5 separate regions of the Homo sapiens genome follow, and regions 1, 2, 4 and 5 are each linked to region 3. The links are contacts of gene promoters, found by promoter capture Hi-C in human tissues and cell types (Jung and others, 2019). All regions are on one chromosome and are shown on one strand. Each heading gives the region's core, a stretch centred on a gene start or on the middle of the fragment in contact. The rest is flanking DNA. Distances are from core to core; before and after follow the strand shown.

Region 1 (4,410 bases), core at 1,598-4,097, 540 kb before region 3:
CAGCTTTGGTTTTAGAACTGATTTTTTTTTCATTTCTGGAAAACCTATCAGGTTTAATCAAATACTTCTTTAAAAATAATTATTATATATTGCAATCTTTAAATAGGTGTTTTGATTCTTCCTGCAGAAATTCAAATTTATTCAGCTGAACTAGCATTTTGAAATTCCTTGGCTCAATGAGGTATCGCAAAAGACTGTATGCACTTTGAAGAAAGACAAGTTAGTCATACGATTTCCATTCTTTTTAGCTTTCTCTTAAATATATGACAAATACCTACACAAAGAGTGGTATTTCAGTTAATATAGTAAATTTATTTCCAGACTGACATTCAGCTTAAATATGCCAATATGTGATTTAATCCATAGGCACCTGATGAACACATTATTGTCAGATTGGTTACAGATGCTAAATGCTATCTGAAGGTCATTCCTAGTCATTGATATTTATCAGGGTAAAAGTGAAGTGATTTCAACAATAAAAGTACCTTTGAAATAATTTACCAATGTATTAGATAAACCCAGTTTCAGAATGATAAAGAAAAAACGTTAGACCAAATAGATGTGGCTAATTAACAGTGGTATGATTTCTAGCCTGAGGGTTTAAAATGGACTTAAAGTAACTGTCTTTAAATTGAACTCAAAGAATGCAAAAGCAGCAAGTTCAGAAAATAAAAGGCAAGAACAGGACTTTAGGTCCATTTTAAACCCACGGGCTAGAAATCGTACCACTGTTAATTAGCTGTGTTATTTGGTCTAACATTTTTTCTTTATCATTCTGAAACTGGGTTTATCTAATACATTGATACATTCATACAATTTGGAAGAGTCAGTTGAAGTCACAAGGACCCAATATTTGCGCTCTTTCAGTGAATGCAGGCAAATCTGTTATTCCATCGGTAAAATCGTATTGTTGCTCTCCTGTTAATGTCATATTTAGAAAAGTATCATGAGGACGCCAAATGCTAAAAATGGAGATGGTCTAGTAACTAGAAATCCCCACCCCAGGGAGCGCATATACACATCTCCCTACATCCTAATAATGTGATGTGTTTTGGAACACAGACATTAGAACTTCATGAAGTTTGAACTGTTGAGTCTTTCCCAAGCATCATCAAGTTATGATTTAGGCAATGTATGACTGAAATCATTTGTTCATCATGCATAGGCACAATCACATAAATATTGCACAAAATATGTCCCTAACTGAAACTGAGAGGTACAAAAACATATTTCACTCTTAGTAAACAAGTTTGTGAGGAAATATAACTCTGTGATTGTATAGACACATTTCCTGATAATACATTGACATTCACAAACAGTAGACTGCACTGCAGTTTATAAACATTTTAAATTGCATAAACATCTCCTTGATTATCAAATATAGTATAATACTGTCTACTAAAACTCCTTTTTGTTTCAACTAAGTACTCTCACATATATTAGTTTATAATAATGTTTGTTATTATTTTTTAAAGTGTTTTCCATTCAAGGAAAAGAAGTAAATTCCTATGTCAGAGTAACCAAGGTGGTTGAAGAATAGGTATTAGCCAGAGAGGTGTAGATGGTAAAAATCAATCTTCAAGCCTCAAAGAAGCTCCATGAACAGAGAGGAATGCCAGGTGTCACAAGCTTTCCTTCACTCTAATTCATTCTTGACTAGAGCCTGTATGCCTGTTCCAGGGACATTTAAACTCCTAAAGGATTTCTTATGATCTTTACTAAATAAGAAGAATGCCAGCCAGCACTCTTTTGTGTACTGGGACATGTGGTCATGTGATTAAAACAGGTAACATCAACTCTGACTTTAAAATGTATTATAGACACAAATGCTCTAAGCTAGGAAAGGTTTTCCACATCTACAGTCAATGAAGGGAGCCTTTCGTTCCTCAGAAATGATCAGTTTTTAGGTCATCGAGAAAGAGTACAACTGCTGCAGCTCATGATGCAATATCTTCATGAGCCCAGAGCACATACAAATCCGAAGGGAACTACCATAGTACAGCGCTAATTGTTGGCACCGGAACAAATGAAACACACTCTATCCTGCACAAACCTGCCACAGCAGGCCACTTTCCTCTTCTGTGAGATTTTAAAAGCTCCCCCAAAATGTTATTACTCCCATCACCAATACACAGAAAATAGGGGAAAGGCTGTTTCCAGTTCTCGGCCTTTAAACAACTCTAAATGTCAGTACTCATAGTGGCATATTACAAAGTAATAAACAGTGCACACCTGGGGGCAAACCACATATTGAGCTAATGAAGAGCTCACTGTGATTAAGATTAGATCAAACAATAGCAGAACATAAGCAAATTTTATCTGAATTCCGTAATGAACATACATGCTGCGATAACATTAAAAAAGCATGGCAGCCTATTCCAAACCAGCAATAATAATTTTGTGCAAATAGTGGGTCTTTGTGTATTTGAACTCCCACCACGTAAGGGCAAACTCGATATGCATGCTAATGACCTACAACTATGAAACTAAAAAAGAAAAATGCTGAAGGATGCCAGAGTAAACATCAGTGAAAGCCACAGAGACCCACTCTCCTTTAACTTTTTACAAATAAACTATAAATTACAAATAATCATGAGTGGCTCTAACATTCAAATGAAGTAAATGAATTGGGTAGGAGATGAACCCCATAACTTTGTTTCCTTTTTTAAAATTTCTTGAGCAGCTCTTTGATGATGGTGATGTTTATCTCCTTCTTCTCAGCAGCCAAGCCCAGCAAAAGAATGGCATACGGGAGTTGCTGCACAAGCCTGGGTGCTCCACGCTGTCAGTGAGGCTCACCTCACAAAGATCTTTGGAGAGAAGGAGGTGGGGATCCGAGTGCAGTGAGAGCCTCCCCTGCCCCTGCCTGCCCACCCTGCCTGAGGACTCTACTCACCACCATGCTTATCAGCACCCACAAGCTCCTGGGGGGCTGGGGCTCCTGGACCAGGCTCATCAGCAAGCTTCAGGGCAGTGGCCGGGAATTTGCTGTGTCCCTCGTTGTAGTCACCACAAGCCGCAACATCTTCTCCAGCAGCTCCAGCAGCTTCACCTGGAGGGAGGGGTGCTCAGCTGTTATGCATCTACCGGCGCCCACCCTCACGCCCACCCCCACCCCTGCAGAGATGTTGCACACCCTACCTTCATCTCCTCCATGTCCTGGGCCAGCCTGATGATGTCCTCCTCCAGTTGCCGCATCTTTGGCACTGCCCCCTGGCTGTGTTCTAGGGTGATGAACTTTCCTGCAGGAGGACAGGGCTCAGACGCTGAGGTCCCTCCGACGGCCCTGCAGCTCCCCCTGCCGTGCCCTGGCCTCCCACTAACTGATGACTTCTGTCTTTCCAGTACTGGATGAATCGAAGTTCTAGTTTCTCCGCTCGCTCCCTCAGGTCCACCTTCTCCTCCAGGAGGTCCATAAGGCCACTCTGGAGCCAAAATAATGGGGTCACATCTCGGCAGCAACACCCACCCCTGCCCTTCTTGGCCCATGCCAGGACTCAGTCACCTCCAGCTTCTCCATGACCTCCTGCATGGCCCGGTGGGTCTCCCCACTCACAGACTGGCCCCTAGTCACTGGGGCTGGGACCGCTGCCTCTGGCTTCTGCTGGGCCGAGGCCACCAGGTGAGCCATGCGCTGGCAGCACACCCTCTGCTCTTTCACCTGCTCTCATAACCGTGCCTGCTCCTCCTGGGCATTGGCTCCAGCGGAGTTGAAAAATGCAACCTGAGGGCAAGAGGTGAGCATTCTTGTAGGGGCATACACAGAACGAACGGGGCAGAGAGGTGGAGTGCAGCCTCTTCCCTTGGGGCCTCAGAGAGTGCATCTGTTGGTCACAGGTGAAATGGTGTCTGACCACTGGCTCCTGGAAGGGATGAGGGTCCAGAGAAATCAGAAGGCAGGGAAACCAAGAGCATAAAGGGGTCTTGGAGGGACCACAGAGGAAGGTGGCAAAATGGGTACAGGGGGAGTCAGGCTCACCGTGGCCTCCCAGCTCTCCAGGTCCTCTGGGTTGCTTGGCATGGGCCGAGGTGCCTCCTCCTCACTGTCCAGATGTCCTCCTCTATCTCCTGTGGGGGGTGGCCAGAAGGGTCCTCAGACAGCCCAATAAGGGAGGTACTGTGGGCCCACCTCTGCCTCCACCCTCACTGTGTAACACTGAGCCAGCCACTACCCAGAGAGCAGCTGCTGTTCTTTATTTTTACTTTTAAGAACCAAGATCAGGCATAGTCCCACTACCAGTCGATGTGGGAGTTCTGACCCGCTCCCTTTCTGACCTGGGCCAGTTCAGCCATCCTTAGGCAACTTGGTGGCCCCCCGCTCCCAGGAGGACATCATATTGATGCCAAACTTAGTGCGGGCACCCGGTCGGCATAGGGACCAGCTGTTCTAAAGGTCTCTTCCAACCTTTG
Region 2 (4,568 bases), core at 1,332-3,831, 590 kb before region 3:
GATTTTAATATTCTATCTACCATAATAGTGGGATTTGCAAAGTCCTGTGAAATGAGGAAAGAATAAATACCTACCTCGGGTAAGGGAAGTCAGACTGGAAAGTCTTCACCTAAAGTAATGTCTGATCTGAAATTTGGAGAAGATTTTATTTAGGCAGAAATAGGTAAACTAGTTATAACAAATAGTGTGGGAAAAAATTTCATGTTATAAGAACATGAAATTCTTCAGGAACTACAAATAACTCAATGTATTATTATCAGAGACAATATTTGATACAAGGGAGGGGGAGGGAACTGATTCGAATAGGTGAGTAAGATGGCAGAAATGTGAATTCAAAACATTCTCTGAGTGTTGAAAAAAGAGCTCATCTAGTTTATCTGTCCAAGATGGCAAACAATATGGAGAACCAGGAGGGCGATGCCTTCAATCATAGAGTTGTAGCTGCCGCTCTGGCAGCATTGCGGAGGACTGCACGTGGAAGTTGCAAGCAGGGCTAGTCTGGAGAAAGAATAATCAGAAATCAAATACCATGGTGAACACAAAGGGCTGAGAAGAGAGATAATGTGAGATACGAGAAGAAGAAATTGGTGGTAGTTGGTGATTGATTGGGTCTGTGGTAAGATTCTAGGCTTTGGATCACCCTGCCAGTCATCAAATCCAATAGATTTTTTTTTTTTTTTACTTACTTTATCAAGATAGCAGCATTTTCCTTCCTTCTTCAGCTTCCTGTTCGATTGTTTTGCTAACTTTTGTACATTTTCCAAATTATCCATATTGACAATACATTATTCTTTTATTTGTAAAGTGGGGTAGGTGGTAAAAATGAAATCATAGCATATAAACAACTTACTAAAAATTATTGAGTTAATCAGAAAAAGCATGTTGATAATTAATATACATATGAAAAAAGTCCAACCTCAATCATAACTTTTTAAAAAATGTCAATTGAAACAATAAGAATATCAGATTAACAAAAATTTTAGCTGTAAAACATTCAATTTTGGCAAAGATAAAGGAAAGAAACATGCTAATGCACTACCTGCGAGACTGTAATAGTTCCAAATTTTCGAAGAGCCATTACAAATATCTGGCAAATTAAAACACTCACTTCCTTTCATCCAGCAATGGCACCACTAATAATTTACACTAAGAATCAATCTAGATGAATATATATGAAGATGCTTATTACAGTATTATTTATAATAGTAAAAAAATCCATTAATATAAACTTATTAGCTACACTACAAAGTGACCGTTCCATGGAATATTATGCAGATGTTATAAAGGATATGTTAATATAAATGTGGTCAATAAGTATTGCATTACAAAAAGAAGAGTAGAAATTGAGTTTGTAGAGAATAATTTCATCACCATATAATGAGAATATATATACACTGAAAATTTCTGAAAGGATCCACCCAAAACTGCTAACATTATTTACCACTGGGGCTTGAAAATGATAGAGATTTGCTCTTGTCATTTATTTTTTTCCCCAGGAACAACAGTAATTTGGCCATAAAATTAGTGAAAAGAAAGAGGCATTAACAAGATAATTGAGGGACGGTGTCGAGTTTTTATATGTTTGTGGAAGGAGGAGATGAGAAATTAAAACTTAAAATAAAAATAAAATCCTTATAGTCACAACTCTAAGAAAGGAAAGGTACTTACAGACAGGAGAATAGAGGCTAATCCCACATCCTATAAGTGTCAAACCAAGGACTAGGATTCAGCTCTCCTGACCCTTGCCCCAGTGCTCTTTCTATGATCCTAAGCAACAGTATATCTATGCCTAGAAAATCAAGCCAACTGAGGTGGAAAAGATCTCAGCCATTATTTCTGTCTTCTCTGAATATACAGGATTGATTATGAGTTCATAAATAAATAAGAAATATTGAAGGGTTGTCCATGGGACACTAAAGTTCCACTGTATTCTGAACCAGAATTTCTTAATTCAATACCATTGCTCTAAAAGGATGCTTTCTCAAGCACTGAAAAATATGGTTCCATTTATGTCCCTAATTTAAGGGAAGAGACATTTTGAATTGGAGGCAAATAATCTATGTTGTAACACTTCGAAGCTTGGTCAGGAAGCTTATGCCAAATGCCTTATGTGTACTTGTGATTTTTGTATTCTGACCCTGAATGTATTTCACACATAAGCTGACATGTCTCCAATAATTTTCCTCCTAATTACGGTATAAATGAAATATTAGCACATATTATCTCAGCACCCCACCAACTGATCAGTTTGTTGCTATAAAGTGCAAATGCCCAATCATATAAAATTCCAAGCAGTGCTCTACTGAAAATGAGAAGGCATCACTAGCATGTGAGTGAAAAGAATATTACGTGCTTCCCTTTTCTATACGTTAAATTGCTTCACATTGAAAAAATAAATTCACTCTGGGAGACTGAGGCGGGCAGATCATAAGGTCAAGAGATTGAGACCATCCTGGCCAACATGGTGAAACCCTGTCTCTACTAAAAATACAAAAATTAGCTGGGCATGGTGACGTACACCTGTAGTTCCAGCTACTCGGGAGGCTGAGGCAGGAGAATTGCTTGAACCTGGGAGGCGGAGGTTGCAGTGAGCTGAGATCATGCCACTGCACTCCAGCCTGGTGACACAGAGAGCCTCCCTCTCAACAAAATTTTAAAAATGAAATAAATAAAAAATAAGTTAAATAATATACTAATCAAAAATTTGTAAATTATCCATCTACTTCTAGGAAATTACAAAGAACAAATTTCATTATTTTAGCATAAGAGGGATGGATTTACTTTTGTAATTTTCAATATATTAACAATAGATTTTTTTCCTAGTGTTGTTTAGGATACTTCCTGCAATGCTTCATTCAAGTTATCAGTGATTTTTACTACGTATTGTAAAGGATACCTAGCCAACATATATAAATATTTGCTGAATTCAAGATTACTAAGTCAAGAAGCTGGGGTAAATAAAACGGAAACAGGACATCCGTGAATATTTAAGGATATAATCTCGCAATTGCATGTTTCTGCTGGCTTTTCATAACATAATAAACCTTGTTTTTTCTTCTAATTTAAAAAATGCTATCAATAATAAAAATGCTAATTATACAGAATCAACATTTTTATGCATATATCAATTCTTACAAATGTTCTAATTTCAGTTGAGTAAATTGATATGTAAATATACTTGTAAGACAGAAAATGTTGTAAGAAGATTAATTTGAGGTTGTAAGTAGACTAGTGAATTAAAATTTCCATTTCCTATGCTGCAGAGCACTTTTAATGCAATTTGGAGGGAGAACATTAGTGCTCAGCATTTATAATTTATCATTTGACATTTGGACTAAAAATTCGAAGTGTATAGAAGAATTACATATATTTTTTAAATTTCCAATACTGCATATGCTACATGATAATGCAGGATTTTACAAAGAGATTAGTGTAATTCAGTGGTTAATCACAAATATTTCAAAAAGGAGCTACATTGTGGACCTTATATTCCCCTCATAGTTGCTTCAGGAAGGGATCTCATTTGTCAATCCTTCTCAAAATTGGGTTCTATTCAGTTCTTAACTGAAAATAGGAAAAAATGCCACCCTATACCGAAGCATATCAACAGAACTGGAAACATTATGCATAATTTTCAATAGATGAGGGTATACATTTACAAAGTATTCACAAAAAGATATTTTTGGCCAAAATTTGGTTGAATTTGTTGAAAGGAAGTACATCTCTGATCTACTTTTTTAGAATTTTCTGGGTTTCAAGGTCTTAAACAGAGGTGTGTATGTATGTGTGTGCGTGTGTGTGTACGGAAATGTAGTGTGTTCATAAAAATGTCACTGCTGGTGTTTCCAAAATGAAGCTACTAAAAAATAGAGAACTGGTATAATCTAGAGAGGGAGAGGAATCGATAATGCAGAGCGCGCTTGGAAAATAAAACTATGGAAAAGAGGCCACAGTATGGACCAGAAGCAATTACCTGATCACTAAAAAAGAGAGAAGATAAAGAAAAAGACACAGGAAAACAGAGTCAGAGAGGCAGAAAGAGAAAAATCAAACAGTATATTTGGCACTGTAGAGAGTAAAAGAATGAGAGATTTTTCTCCTTTCTGTTCATGGGTTATGAAATTGAGGTTTTCCATATAATTAAGAAAGGATGGATCTTGGTGAAGGGCATATTGTCATCTATGAGAGAACTGTGGGAAGTGTAGGGAAGATTAGAGATGGCTGACATTGTTGCTTGGGGTAATAACTCTAAAACTTCTACCATTCAGTCATGCAGATGAGGTGAACAGGTATTTGGGGACATGTTTGACACTTGATCACATGTAACGATAATATATATTACATTTAGAACAATTTATATCATAATTTATGTGTGAAGCAGGATGTAGCTCAAGAAGGAATATTCAGAAACTTTACCTAAAAGCCAATTCATAAGTTATTCTAAAATTGTTGTTAACCTTGTGGGCATATTTTCTATGGATTTCAAGTGAGCAAAAATTGTCAAGAAATAAAATCCGTCAAGAGTACTGACTGCTTTGCCCATGAATCGTAGACACACTTAAGAGGTA
Region 3 (4,465 bases), core at 1-2,500:
AAGATGAGGAGGACGTAACCTAGTCTCTGCCCTTCAAACACCCAAGGTTTATTTTGAGTAAAGATTGCTAAAAAGGTCAGGAACAATTTAGAGAGTTAAATACAATGACACTTCCTAGCCTGACTGAGTAGGCCGTCAATATGTATTTCTTCAAGACGAAAATTATTATGTCAGCGAAATAGCATGAAAGAGGGCTTTATGCTGTTAAAAATACTTGGAAGCATAGTTCGGAAACATTTTTAAAAGACACTTTTTAAAGTGTCTCATTAATATGACAAATTTCCTTCTGAAATGAAGATTTTAAAGTATAATCCTCTACTACAACCGCTGATATTTTTTGTTCTGTGGAAAGCCTGTCTATGAGTTTGCGAGGCTCCTTGTCAAGGAACTTTAACTTTATAATGAAGTAGTTTTTACAGTTGCTGACTTAATTATTCATAGAGACGAATAACCTAGAAAGCAGAGTTATATTAAATAAAAAACATTGGTTTTAAAACAAGGTATGAGTTATAATAAAAATTATCAGTTATCTATTAAATCTGGTCTTCAAGAGCTATTCAGGTATACAGCATGGTTGGTATATGTCATGTATTTCTAAGATAGTTTCGGAATACCTAAGAATTCGTGGCACTCAGAAATTTTTTGCTGGTCTTAAAATGAGGAAATCCACATTTTGTGTAAAAACAAAGATACGGTGTTTAATGGTCAGCCCAAATAATAAGACTTGCTGCTAATATATGAAGAGTTACACCCCCCAAAAAAGAAAAAAGATTAACAGTAGAACAGTTTTTTGAAAACAATGTTAGCCTCTTAGTTTTCATTTCTTTTTTTTAATGGGGAATACTGTTTTTCAGTGATTAATATCTGATATTTGATCATGAAAAATGAATCATGTTAAAATAACCTTCACCTCCTCCCCACATTGACACAAAAGTTACCAAGTGATTATATTTGATAATACTTTATGACCCCACTCTTGAAGTTCTCACAATTTGTAGAGAATCAATTCGCACGTTTTGTCTCTCTTAAAGGGGAAAAAAATCCTCTAAGCTGGTGATTTCACGTTCTTTGACAAACTTCAATATCAACAGGCAACGATACCACTTTAAGAAAATTCCAAGGAAAAGACCTCATTTTAAAATTCCCACCTCTGGCTCCCAAAGATTGGTTTGCAAACTTCGACAAAATACTCTTCTCCACTCGCTATTGGTGAGTGCTCTATCATTCATTCTTTTGCCTGGAGTTTTGTGAGGTACCCGCTTGCTTTATGGGAAAAGGCTGCTCCGGAACTGCCCTACTTTAGACTTTTTCATGGTTATCAATCTGTACAAAGAATCACCAAACTGATAAAGCAGGAACCAGAGGGCAAATCACGCTGCCAAGACAACTGTGTAATTCGCTCGAAAAAGAAACGGTGAGCCTCTCCAGCAGACTGGGTAAACTGGCAAGGGATTTTACGACATAGTTGGAGATTGGAGAGTTACAGAAACTTTTCCGGTTTTTTACAAGTTTTAAAGGAGTGATTGAGTGTCAAAGGAAAAGCAGAGAAAATACAGGCACAATTTAAAGACAGCAGGAAGAAGAGTGTTCAGAGAGCATTTTTCTCTTTAGGGTGAAGTTTGAAAGCATCATGCCCAGATTATCAGTGGATTTTTGAAAGGTAAAGGAGGCAAGATAATAAGATTAACTATAGATCATTTTCTACTTTAAGAAACTGTGCTTCGTTATTGTTGCTTAAGTGTGGATTTAGAAGGACATTTAGTAATATTGTAATTTTTATATGGATATTTTTGTTTATATATTGTCATACCTGGCATAATAGATAATATATCTATTAAAAGATATAGGAGAAAATAGAGTTGCTTGAACCCAAATTTTGTGTATATTTGTGGATTAGGGATTCCAGGGACAGATCTGCTAATGGCTGAACAAAACATACTACAGATACCTGAAGCAGAATCAGCATGTAAGGGTAAATTCTCAAAAAAATCCAGCAATCATATTTCAAAAATGACATTTTTAATTAAAACAAATACAAAAGAATTTATCAAGGAAACGTTGATGAACATGACTATTTCTTAAGTTGCCTGTGTTAATCCATATAGGGGAATATAAAGTAATAAAATCCAGCCCCTCAAGAGCAGGGACAAATGAGGCTCAGAACATTTAAACTAAAACTTCTGAACAGTTCTTAATGCCCGGATGACTGTTGTAGAGCACAGGTGCTTCAGGAGCTCAGCTCAATGTGAGATGAATTATTCAGAGAAGGCTTCACAGTATGGGTAAGACTCAATTTGGGCCTGAGCAATGGGCAGAATTTCAGAGAGAAAAATAAGGGAAGTGGCATCCCTACTAGTGAGTGAGTTGTTAGCAAATACATGCAGCCTGAGGAAGAGTTGGTTCTGACTGCGGCAGAAGGTTCATTTGGAAACTTTGGTTACAAATTTTAAAAAGCAGCATGAGAAATATAAAGAGCCGGAATTCCCAAAATCAGGGGTTTGGGTCCTGTGTTTGGAACAGGAGGCACCCCTTATGAAAGTAATATTTGAAGACAATAAAACTGACAGTGGAATTTAAGATGGCTAGACCAGAGCAGAGACCAGAAGCTAAGGGGCCCCATGCTGTGTAAATACTGGCACACAGGTTAGTAACCATGCTTCTTACCCGAATACATTTACCTTATCATTGTTGAATAATATAAATTTTGATGCACTTCTTTGTAGTCTTCGAAAGCATTGAGTTTACTTCTTTAAGATTTTTGGGGACCGCTGCCACACTGTCTTGGGGAGTCATGGTTGCCCCGTCTTTATAAAAGTCTTGTCATAATATGTATAAAAACCAGAATTACACATAAAACTGCGTTGTGGTTTCATAGCTATTTTTAACAGCTTTAATGAAGTATAATTTATATATTATAAAGTTCATTTGTCTTAAGGATATAACTCAATGATTGTTTTAGAAAATCACAACCATCACCACATTCCAATTTTAGAAAATTTTCATCATCCTAGAAAATTTAGAAAATTTTCATCATCCTAGAAAATTTAGAAAATTTTCATCATCCTAGAAAATTTAGAAAATTTTCATCATCCTAAAAAAATACTTTGTGCCCATTTGCAGGCAAGTCCTGGTTTCCTATCCCCAGCCCCAATCACTAAAAAACTTTCTGTCTATAAATTTACCTTTTCTGGGCATGTAAGTGGAATTACACATTATGCGATCCTTTGCATCTAGTTTCTTTTACTTAGCATAATGTTTTTGAGGTTCATCCATGTTGTAGTATGTCTCATTACTTCATTCCTTTTTATTGCTAAGTAATAATCCACATTTTATTTAACAGTACCAATTAACAGACATTTGGATTTCTTCTAGTATTTAAATATAGTGTTTAATTGTACTAATTGTAATTGTATTACAGTAAATACAGTACAGTATTTAGCATTATGAATAATGCTGCTATGAAGATGGGTACAAGTTTTTGTATGAACGTGTGTTTTCAGTTTTCTTGGGTGTATATCTACGAGTGGAATTACTGTCATATGGTAACTCTGGGTGTAACTTTTCAAGGTGTTGCACAACTGCTTTCCAAGGTGAATTTCCCATTTTACATTTCCACCAGAGTGTATGAGGGTTCCAATTTGTCCACATCCTCACCAACACTCCTTATGATCTGTCTTATTCATTGTAGTCATTCAGCTGGATTTTAAGTGGTATCTTATTACAGCTTTCATTTGCATTTTCCTGATGACTGACGATATGAAGCATCTTTTCATGTGCTTGTTGACTATCCATATATCTTCTTTTGTAAAATGTCTTTCAAATATTTTGCCTATTTTTTTAATTGAGTTGTCATCTTGTTACTGATTGTTTTTTGGTTTTTTTGGTTTTTGTTTGTTTGTTTGTTTGTTTGAGACTGGGTCTCGCTTTGTCGCTCAGGCTGGAGTGCAGAGTGCCACGATCTCGGCCCACTGCAATGTCCACCTTCCGGGTTCAAGCAATTCTTCTGCCTCAGCCTCCCGAGTAGCTAGGATTACAGGTGCCCACGACCACGCCCAGCTAATTTTTTGTATTTTTAGTAGAGACGGGGCTTCACCATGTTGGCCAGGCAGGTCTCGAACTCCTGAACTCGTGATCCACCTGCCTTGGCCTCCCAAAGTGCTGGGATTACAGGCATGAGCCATCGCGCCAGCCCATGTTAATAAATTTTTTTTTTTTTGACACGGAGTGTCACTCTGTCACCCGGGCTGGAGTACAGTGGCTCGATCTCAGCTCACTGCAACCTCTGCCTCCTAGGTTCAAGCGATTCTCCTGCCTCAGCCTCCTGAGTAGCTGGGATTACAGGTGCCCACTACTATGCCCAGCTAATTTTTTGTATTTTTAGTAGAGACAGGGTTTCACCATGTTGGCCAGGCTGGTCTTGAACTCTTGACCTCGTGATTTGCCCACCTCGGCCTCCCAAAGTGCT
Region 4 (4,548 bases), core at 447-2,946, 660 kb before region 3:
GGGAGCACAGCGCTTCCAGGAGCCAGCCAGCGAGGGGGCCTGCAGCCCTGCAACCCAAGCCCAGTGTGCAACAAGCAGCCAGAGGGCTCACTCTCAGAATGGGGGCTCAGCTGACCCGTCCCAGGACAGACAGCGGGCCTGTCACCGATCACGCTGTTGCGGTGGCAAAGTATTGTAAGGCCAAAGATTTGGAGCTCTGGGCCAGACTGCTGGCTTTGAATCCTGACTTAGACCTCTACTGTGTGACCCCAGGCGGGTTACTTCACTTTTCTGTGTCTCAGTTTCCTCCTCTGTAAAATAGGGGTGAAAATATGGGTCGCAATTTCTTGTTTACAATTCCAAAATCCAAAAAGCTCCAAAGAAATGATACATAAACACACACATACATACATATACACAGCCTCTTCAACTTAAGATAGGGTTACATCCACATAAACTCATTGTAAGTTGAAATGATTGTTAAGTTGAAAATGAATTTAATACACCTAACCTACCAAACATCATAGCTGAGCCTAGCCTACCTTAAACGCGCTCGGAACACTGACATTAGCCTACAGCTGGACAAAATCATCTGGCAAGGCAGTCCACTGTGGAGTATCAGTTCTTTTTTTTTTTTTTTTTTTGAGATGGAGTCTTGCTCTGTCTCCAGGCTGGAGTGCAGTGGCGCAATCTCGGCTTACTGCAACCTCCACCTCCCAGGTTCAAATGATTCTCCTGCCTCAGCCTCCCGAGTAGCTGGGACTACAGGCACATGCCACCATGCCCAGCTAATTTTTGTATTTCTTTAGTAGAGATGGGGTTTCACCATGTTGGACAGGATGGTCTTGATCTTTTGACGTCGTGATCCACCCGCCTCGGCCTCCCAAAGTGCTGGGACTACAGGCATGAGCCATCCCGCCCGGCCGCAGTATCAGTTCTTTACCCTCCTACTTGAGTGACCGACTGGGAGCTGTAGCCACTGCAGCTGGCCAGCATTGCAAGACGGTCTTGTACCACACATGGCTAGCACAGGAAAACACTAAAATTCCAAATTTAAGTTCAGTTTCTATCGAATGCATATCACTTTCACACCATTGTAAAGTCAAAACATCCTTAAATTGAACCATGGTAAATTGGGGACCATCTGTATTGACAAAAAAAAAAAAAAAAAAGGCAAATAGCCAAATGGAAAAAAAACTGGCAAAAGGAAGGCAGTTTTAGCAGAGATTTCTAGGTACTTACTTCAATTGCCATCCCCCCAACCCCCATCCTTCTCAGTAATAGAATCCTGATGTTACTCAGAGTTGCCATTTATCTAATTGAAAGACCATGTTTCCCAGCCTCCCTTGCAGATAGGTATAGCCATGTGACTAAATTCTGATTCAATATATGCAAGCAGAAGTGTTGTGTGTTATGTCCAGGAAGACTCCTTAAAGGGAAGGAGTGTGTCCTCCTTTGTGCCTGCCTCTCCCCTGCTGGTTGGAATGAGGGTGTGATGCCTGGCACTCTAGCAGCCATCTTGGAACGTGGGGCTGAGGACCACAGCCATTCCCTAAGGAGAGCAAAATGCAGCCCTAGAAGACGCCTGGGTCCCTGATTAGTTTGCAAAGCCACAATACCAATCCCGCACTCCCTTCCTCCAGAATACTTTTACAAGGGACAAAAACAAATTTCTATCCAATTTAAGCCTCTGTTGTTTTTGGTTTTTCTGCCATATGCAAATAAACCTAATCCAATTAACACAGCAAATCACAGAGGCTCAAATCCAAATGACCAACAGAAAATGGTGCTGAAGTTTGTCGGTAATTAGAAAAATGCAAATTAAACAACACAACACTTTATACCCATCAAACTGATTAAAAACGAAATGTGTTAATATGTTTGTGGGCAAAGATTCAGGGAAAGCATTCTCTAATACATTGTTGCTGAAACATAAATTGTTATGGCATTTTTGGAAAGCAACCTGGCAACAGTTATTAAAATTAAAACTAGATATACCCTTCAATCTAGCAATCTCATTCCTGGTGCTCTAGCTCCGAGTAATAAAAGAATTAATGTGTATGCAGGTGATACAGTTTGGATCAGTGTCTCCACCCAAATCTCATGTGGAATTGTAATAATCCCCAATGTTGGAGGTAGGGCCTGGTGGGAGGTGATTGGATCATGGGGTGGATTTCTCATGAATGTTCTACTGATTGAACTCAAGAGCGATACAGATAAAGTAGAAATCATTTTTTTCCCAAGGAAGTGACTTTTATCTAAATCCTGAGTGAGAGCTGCATGTGTCTGATGATCCTTGATTCTCTGTTTATATTCATGTGAAAGAACTAGATGACTGACACACGTAGCTTCTGTAAGATTTTGTTTCAGTTGTGAATGATTTCATCATCAGCAGGTCTGTCTTCTGAGTGGGCAGGCTGGCTCTGAACTCTATGTGCAGACAGGCATGTCAAGACAACCTTGACATGAGCAGGAGAGCAGCTAAGATTGCCCTAAAATGCCAGAGAATCATAATAAATCAAAGGACTAATCCTACTCAGGAAGAATGGTTATTACATGAGAGTGTTATTTGCTGGTCGTAGCTAGCAAGAAGGTCAGGCGTAAAGGCAACTCTGCCTGCTTTTATCTCAGAATGGGCCAAAAGGAGGGAAGAGAAAGGGAAGTTGGAAAGACATAGAACTATTCATCCACAAAACCTCAATGATTTCCCTGATTTTTGTTCCATTACAACTTTGCTTTACTCATTTGATCACATGAAGCTTAAAACCTCCTGAGGCCCTACCCTTGACAATAGTATCCATCTTCCCTACTTCTTCTGCTCCCTTCTGGGCAAATTTTGGACAACTAGCAACTCTGTTCTCTTTTATTCGTATAACAGCCTCCAGAACTGCACGAGAATCCATTTCAGTTGTTTTAAGTCACCAAGCGTGTAGTAATTTGTTATGGCAGCCCTAGGAAACTCATATAAATAGAATCTCATTAACTTCCTGTCTTTCAGAAGTCCTCCAGAAATCTCTGAGCCGCTCATGTAAACCCTGGGCCCATATTACTCTCAGTACTGCTGTGTATTTATTTCGTTTTGTTTCTCTTGACTAGGACAGAAGTGAGGTAGTTTCAGTCTGCATTGAAATTTTTAAAATAATATTTAATATTTAACTCCAGTGTATCTTCAGTCTTGCCCTAGAAGCCAGATTCAGATTCAGGCTAGATTGAAGAGAAAGCATTCCGCTACAAGAAAGGAGATTTAATTTTTGGTTCCCTGGCACATAGAGTATGCATTTCCCTGACGAAATTGTGTCAGACCAAGTGCATTTAAGACGAAAGCCAATCAAGATGATGGGTGTGGCAGCTTCTTACTCGGCTTCAGTGGCCCCCATGCCATCTCAGTCATAAAAGTGTTATGTGTATGTGTATATTCAGTTTCTCATTCTTCCACTGGCATTGTTTCACAAAATCCCTCCAGATATAACCAATATTCATTTTAATTTCAGTCAGAGTAAGTATAAAATCAGTTCTCTTCATAACATTAGTTTTTGACTTCAAACCTTCAGAGACATAAATGTGCTTTATGAAAAGCTCCTACTATTTCTTTCCTCCAGCAAAAATCGTGCAGTGATCTGTTACTGCCATTGAAGAATTAGATATGTAAATGGGAGGAGGGCATTTGAAGGCAGATGGTACCTAGGAATGGATGGGCGGTCGCATGGGTTTTTCTTCATTAAAACATCTTAAAGTTTGGTTCTCAGTGTGAAGATAGTTTAAATTGAAATAATTTTTGTACCTTGACACTGCAATAAGTGCCCTGTACATGCATCAAGTTTTACAAATGAGAGGCTATGTGGCGCTTCTGATAGAGCAAGGTGTTCAGGACTAAAGCCACAGAATATTCCTTAAATAGCTCCCTTTGATGTGAGAGCCTGAAAATTAGACATTAAAAATGAATAACCCTGCAACTCTAAGAAAAATGAGAGCAAGTGAAATACAATTTAATGAATCCCTATGTGATAGGAAACCATAGTTCAAATCATTTGACATCAGAAAATACCCTCCGTCCCTTAACCTCAAAATGTTAAAGCCAGCTCAAGTCACCTGACTTTTAGCAAAATTTCTCAGACAATTCCAGCCCACATTGATCTCTTTCTCCAAAGACTTTATCTGTACTTATCTGTCAATCATAAACTTGAAATCAGATACCATCTTGTAGCACTATCTAAACTACTTCACCTGTACATAGCTTGTTTTCCTATTGCAATTACAATTCAATGGGGCCAAGAACCACATCTTAATCTTCTTTTGTATCCTGCAATAAGTACTTTTTCAAAAAGTTGAAGTGATGTAATCTTCAAAATAAAATGGATCATTCAGACACATTAAGATTTTAGCTAACAAATTTGCAAGATACTAGGCTGCGTAATTTTATCTGCAATATTAAAAGCTATAAAAGGTCACCTGCCTTTAGTCATAAGTCATGTGGGTATATTATATTCAAATCCACATCCTGCCTGCCATGCTTCCTTTCGAATTCTCCTTTTGGAGATTTTGGTGCCCTTTACTTAGAATAATCGTGAA
Region 5 (4,394 bases), core at 1,779-4,278, 640 kb before region 3:
GCTAGGCCTGCTGATATATCTATGTCAAGCAAGAACTGAAGACAGGCTATGAAAACCACACATCAGTGGAATTCTCTTCTATATCAATTTATGAAAGAGTACACCAAGTTTATAAAGATCATATCCCACCATTGCTCCGGTCAACCCATGTAACCTTTACTTATATTTCAGTCATCCACATCCCCTCCTAGATGAAGGTTAGAGAGAGTGGATTGGAGCATACAGGTCTTCCTCCTGCTTTCCTCTCTTCCATTTTTTCTTCTCTCACCCTTATATTCAACAAATGTCTACTCCCTGCCAGGCATGTGTTCTAAGTACTGGGGATGGAATGGTAAGGACCACAGAAAAATTCTTCGCCCTTCATGGAGCTTACATTCAAGAAATAGAAATAGAAAATAAACAAGTAAATATGTTGAACATCAGGAGATGATAAGCGGCATGGAGAAAAATGAAAGGACTGTAAACGAGGTAGATTTGATCATAGGAAAGCTCCTTGAAGAAGTGTCAATTGAGAGAAAATGTCTACATGTTATGAGGGAGTAAGTGGTTCATAAGCAGCAGAGAGTATCTTCTGGTCGGAGATAAACAGTGATTACAAAAAGTCCCAATATTGGAACAAGCGTGGCTCAATGGAGGGAAAGCAAGATGGCCTGTGTGACTAGAGTGCAGTAAGTGAGGTTGAGGGATGGGGATGAACTGAGAAGCCAAGAGAGAGCAGATCAGAGAGATTCAGCACTACTGGGGTGATTTAAGTATGAATGGATACAGAGACTAATATAAGTTTTTAAACCATCTCTGTCTGTTGAGAACTAACGGTAGAGAAAAAAAGGGAGAAATAAGAAGAAAAGATGACAATATTTGCAGGAGTGCATGACAGTGGCTGGTTCCATGGTGGAAATGTGATTGCATCTGGGTTATATATTGAAGGCAGGGAGGAAGGAGACTGCTGATGAGATGAATGTGTAAATGTTGAGTGAGTGTCGATGCTATGTACTGAGATAAGGAAGATTGTAGGTTGAAGTATGGGGGTTCAAGAGTTCTTTTCTGAATGTTTATTAGACATCTGGAGAATCATGTTAAGTACGCAGTTAGATAAAACAATCAGGAGCTCAGGATAGATGTCAGAACTAGACGAATAAATATGGCAATCATCAGCAGAGATGGCACTCGGCATTAGAGGACTGGATTTTTTCAACCAGGAAATATGTTTAGAATTGGAAGAGAAGATGTTCTAGAATTGAGCCCATAAGTACCCAGACTTTCTTGAGAAGAAGGACACGGTGAAGGAGACCAAGAAGACGCAACTAATCAGATGAACACCTGTACAGTGTGTGTGTCTAAGAAGTCAAAGAAAGAAAGTATTTCAAGAAAGAGATAACCAACAGCATCAAATGCCCTGAAATGGCAAGTAAGACGTACGTAACCTTGACAAAGGTATTTCAGTGGATTTGTAGGGATGAAGGTCTGATTGGAGAGGATTAAAGAGAGAGTGGGGAGAACTTCCACTTAAATACATTTATCTCCCCATCCTCCCAAAACACCAATAAAATGTATGTAATGGAATTTTTTTTGGCATAAACTACAAGGACAAAGAGTGTAGAAAAGGAAACAACAGGCAGAAAACCCACATCGACAAAATTTTATAATCTGGTATGGTAGTAACTGACTCAGTAGGCCAGAGAAGGGGAAATGTAACCCTATATTCAGGTTGCCAGAAAGATATAGTTCTATTTACTGCTAAACCCCAAGAAGGCTCAGAAAGTGGAGAACCAGCTTCCTTAGATGGGAGGAGTGTGAAATGGAGCTAAAAACAGGGTTGATTGAAGATCTTTTAAGTAGCTACCAGATACCACACTTTACTTCCCAGCTCGGTGCAAGCAGGCATGGGAGTATTACTCTCTGGAAAGGTTTGACAAGGGGTTAAAAGGCTCTGAACATGGGGATGGCAGACACAGGTGAGAGCAAATGTGCAGTGCCTTACTGACATGGGGAGATTTTAAGTAAAATTCTTGAATGAAGGGTAAGACACTCCTTACCCTGCTTCCTTGTCTGTTTCTCTGCTTTACCTTCACAAAGATGGCTGCCAGGCCTGCATCAGCGCCCTTCCACTGTAAAGCATTCTAAAAAGTTCACCTTCAGTTTTGAGGGTTGTGATCCTATAGCAATAACCCGTTTCCTCTTCTGCATCTTTGATAACCCTCTCATCATTGACATCATCCAATTTTTTCTGCAACCAATGGTGAAACATGTCTCAGGCTGCTTCCTGTATTTGGAAAAGCCCTCCTTCAAATTTAGCTAAAGGACTCTGTCATGTTTACAAAAAAAGGAGAAAAAAAAATCGCTTGAAATGAAATGTCCCCATTCCCATCTACTTCCAACCTTAAATTGAATATTATGTCAAACACAAGAGGCCATTAACATGCAAACATTTGTAATCGTCGCTGCTTTACTTCACCCGGTGCATCTTATTGTGTTTTTATGTAATTTGGATGTGATTAAAATGTGTGCAAATATTATCGTAATGTAGCTAAGCAGGTATTTATGTGAAAACATATGGTCCAGTGTAGTGGATATAAGACCTGGTTCAATAACACATGCCTCTAGGTGTTTAATGATATTTGATGGCATAATTTTTTTAAAATCTCAGTTTTCCAAATCATTATCTAGATTCAAGGAGGCAGAGATCCAGATGCTTTACCATATTTTCTGCACCTCATTATTAAATTCACGTCTTAACTATTCTTTGTAAGTAAACTGTCATAGAAGACTTTCATAATTAACCAGAGAAAGCTTTATGCCCCCTTTTCAAAGTTTAAATGGGGATCTAAAAACAAAGCAGACCAAATACCTATTCGCTCCAGGCCAATGTAGACATCGATAAAATTAGCCAGTGTTCTGTCAATGATAATCTAAATCATTCTCTCACGCATTTATGCACAATTATATTAGCTTATTATTATACTGTCATAAACAATGGTTGTAGTAAGAATCACCTACCATATGTAGACCTACAATTATGAGTTGTGCATAGACCTTGTCTGGAAGTCAAAAGATAGTATTCACTTTGTTTTATGGAATAATCTTTTCGGTAATTTTGAGAAAGTCATATATTTTTAGTGAACCTTATTCTTGCTTACTGTAAAATAGAATCCTGCTCCTGAGCTCTCTCAAAATCATCATAAAATCAAAGGTGACAATGTGAAAATATATTGTTACTTTTGTCAGTTTATTTCATCTAGTTCACTTATTTGTCACTGCTCTTATTTGCTATTCTTACATGAAACTTTCATACTTGTCTCTAAGTATACACATCCATTGTCATTCAGATAGAGATGTTGTGAGGACCTTGAATCACTTAATTTAATTAACACTCTTAATTTTTCAGATGAAGAAACGTTGTTCACCCAGAAAATTTAAGTGACAAACCAAGGCCACACCTATAACTGGTGGCAGTCCCCAAACTAAAACTCCAGGCCTCTAGTCTTTTCACTTACATCCATATTCATTTCTCAGAAAATATCACCTACTTTGGGAAGTATTGAAAGAAACGTTGCTAAGATGTAAACACAAAATAAAGTGAGACATAAATGAAAAATAAAACACCGTGTTTAAATATTCAGATGGCCAATGATAGACTGGATTAAGAAAATGTGGCACATATACACCATGGAATACTATGCAGCCATAAAAAAGGATGAGTTCATGTCCTTTGTAGGGACATGGATGAAGCTGGAAACCATCATTCTCAGCAAACTATCGCAAGGACAGAAAACCAAACACCGAATATTCTCACTCATAGGTGGGAACTGAACAATGAGAACACTTGGACACAGGAAGGGGAACATCACACACTGGGGCCTGTCGTGGGGTTGGGGGAGGGGGGAGGGATAGCATTAAGAGATATACCTAATGTAAATGATGAGTTAACAGGTACAGCACACCATCATGGCACATGTATACATATGTAACAAACCTGCACGTTGTGCACATGTACCCTAGAACTTAAAGTACAATAATAATTAAAATAAATAAATATTCAGATGGCATATAATATGCCCTGCTGAGACCAGCTTGGTCAGGGATACCCTAACCCAGGGGCGCTAGAGGAATTAAAGACACACACACACACAGAAATATAGACGTGTGAAGTGGGAAATCAAGGGTCTCACAGCCTTCAGAGCTGAGACCCCCAAACAGAGATTTACCCACATATTTATTAACAGCAAACCAGTCATTAGCATTGTTTCTATAGATATTAAATTAACTAAAAGTATCCCTTATGGGAAACGAAGGGATAGGCCGAATGAACACGCCCTTAAGACACAGATCGCTCATCTTTTGTTTGTGGCTTAAGAATGCCTTTAAGCAGTTTTCTACCCTGGGCAGGCCAGGTG

The links. The method cuts DNA at HindIII sites, captures the fragments that hold promoters and counts their contacts. A contact is called where the count stands out against the background at its distance.
Region 1: a fragment that was not itself captured here is called in contact with the fragment with the promoter of TTC23 in region 3 in 1 of the 25 tissues and cell types used here (lymphoblastoid cells).
Region 2: a fragment that was not itself captured here is called in contact with the fragment with the promoter of TTC23 in region 3 in 1 of the 25 tissues and cell types used here (lymphoblastoid cells).
Region 4: a contact is called between a fragment that was not itself captured here and the fragment with the promoter of TTC23 in region 3, in 1 of the 25 tissues and cell types used here (lymphoblastoid cells).
Region 5: a contact is called between a fragment that was not itself captured here and the fragment with the promoter of TTC23 in region 3, in 1 of the 25 tissues and cell types used here (lymphoblastoid cells).

What each region holds. Positions count from the first base shown.
Region 1 is chr15:99,791,211-99,795,620 of GRCh38, reverse strand. It overlaps LOC124903563 (a long non-coding RNA gene), which reads right to left and starts at 4,065. Exons shown (of 3, transcript XR_007064776.1): 1 at 3,980-4,065; 2 at 3,142-3,242; 3 at 1-3,052. It also overlaps the pseudogene DNM1P46 and the pseudogene RN7SL484P. The HindIII fragment of the contact is 4,285 bases long and covers 705-4,410 here.
Region 2 is chr15:99,834,641-99,839,208 of GRCh38, reverse strand. It overlaps the pseudogene LOC400464. Among named protein-coding and RNA genes, the nearest start is that of LYSMD4, 100 kb to the right of the region's middle. The HindIII fragment of the contact is 3,380 bases long and covers 892-4,271 here.
Region 3 is chr15:99,246,366-99,250,830 of GRCh38, reverse strand. TTC23 (tetratricopeptide repeat domain 23) reads left to right here and starts at 1,250. Exons shown (of 14, transcript NM_001288615.3): 1 at 1,250-1,660. The HindIII fragment of the contact is 13,786 bases long and covers 1-4,465 here.
Region 4 is chr15:99,904,825-99,909,372 of GRCh38, reverse strand. No RefSeq gene overlaps it. Among named protein-coding and RNA genes, the nearest start is that of LYSMD4, 170 kb to the right of the region's middle. The HindIII fragment of the contact is 4,214 bases long and covers 1-3,803 here.
Region 5 is chr15:99,888,274-99,892,667 of GRCh38, reverse strand. No RefSeq gene overlaps it. Among named protein-coding and RNA genes, the nearest start is that of LYSMD4, 160 kb to the right of the region's middle. The HindIII fragment of the contact is 6,167 bases long and covers 1-4,394 here.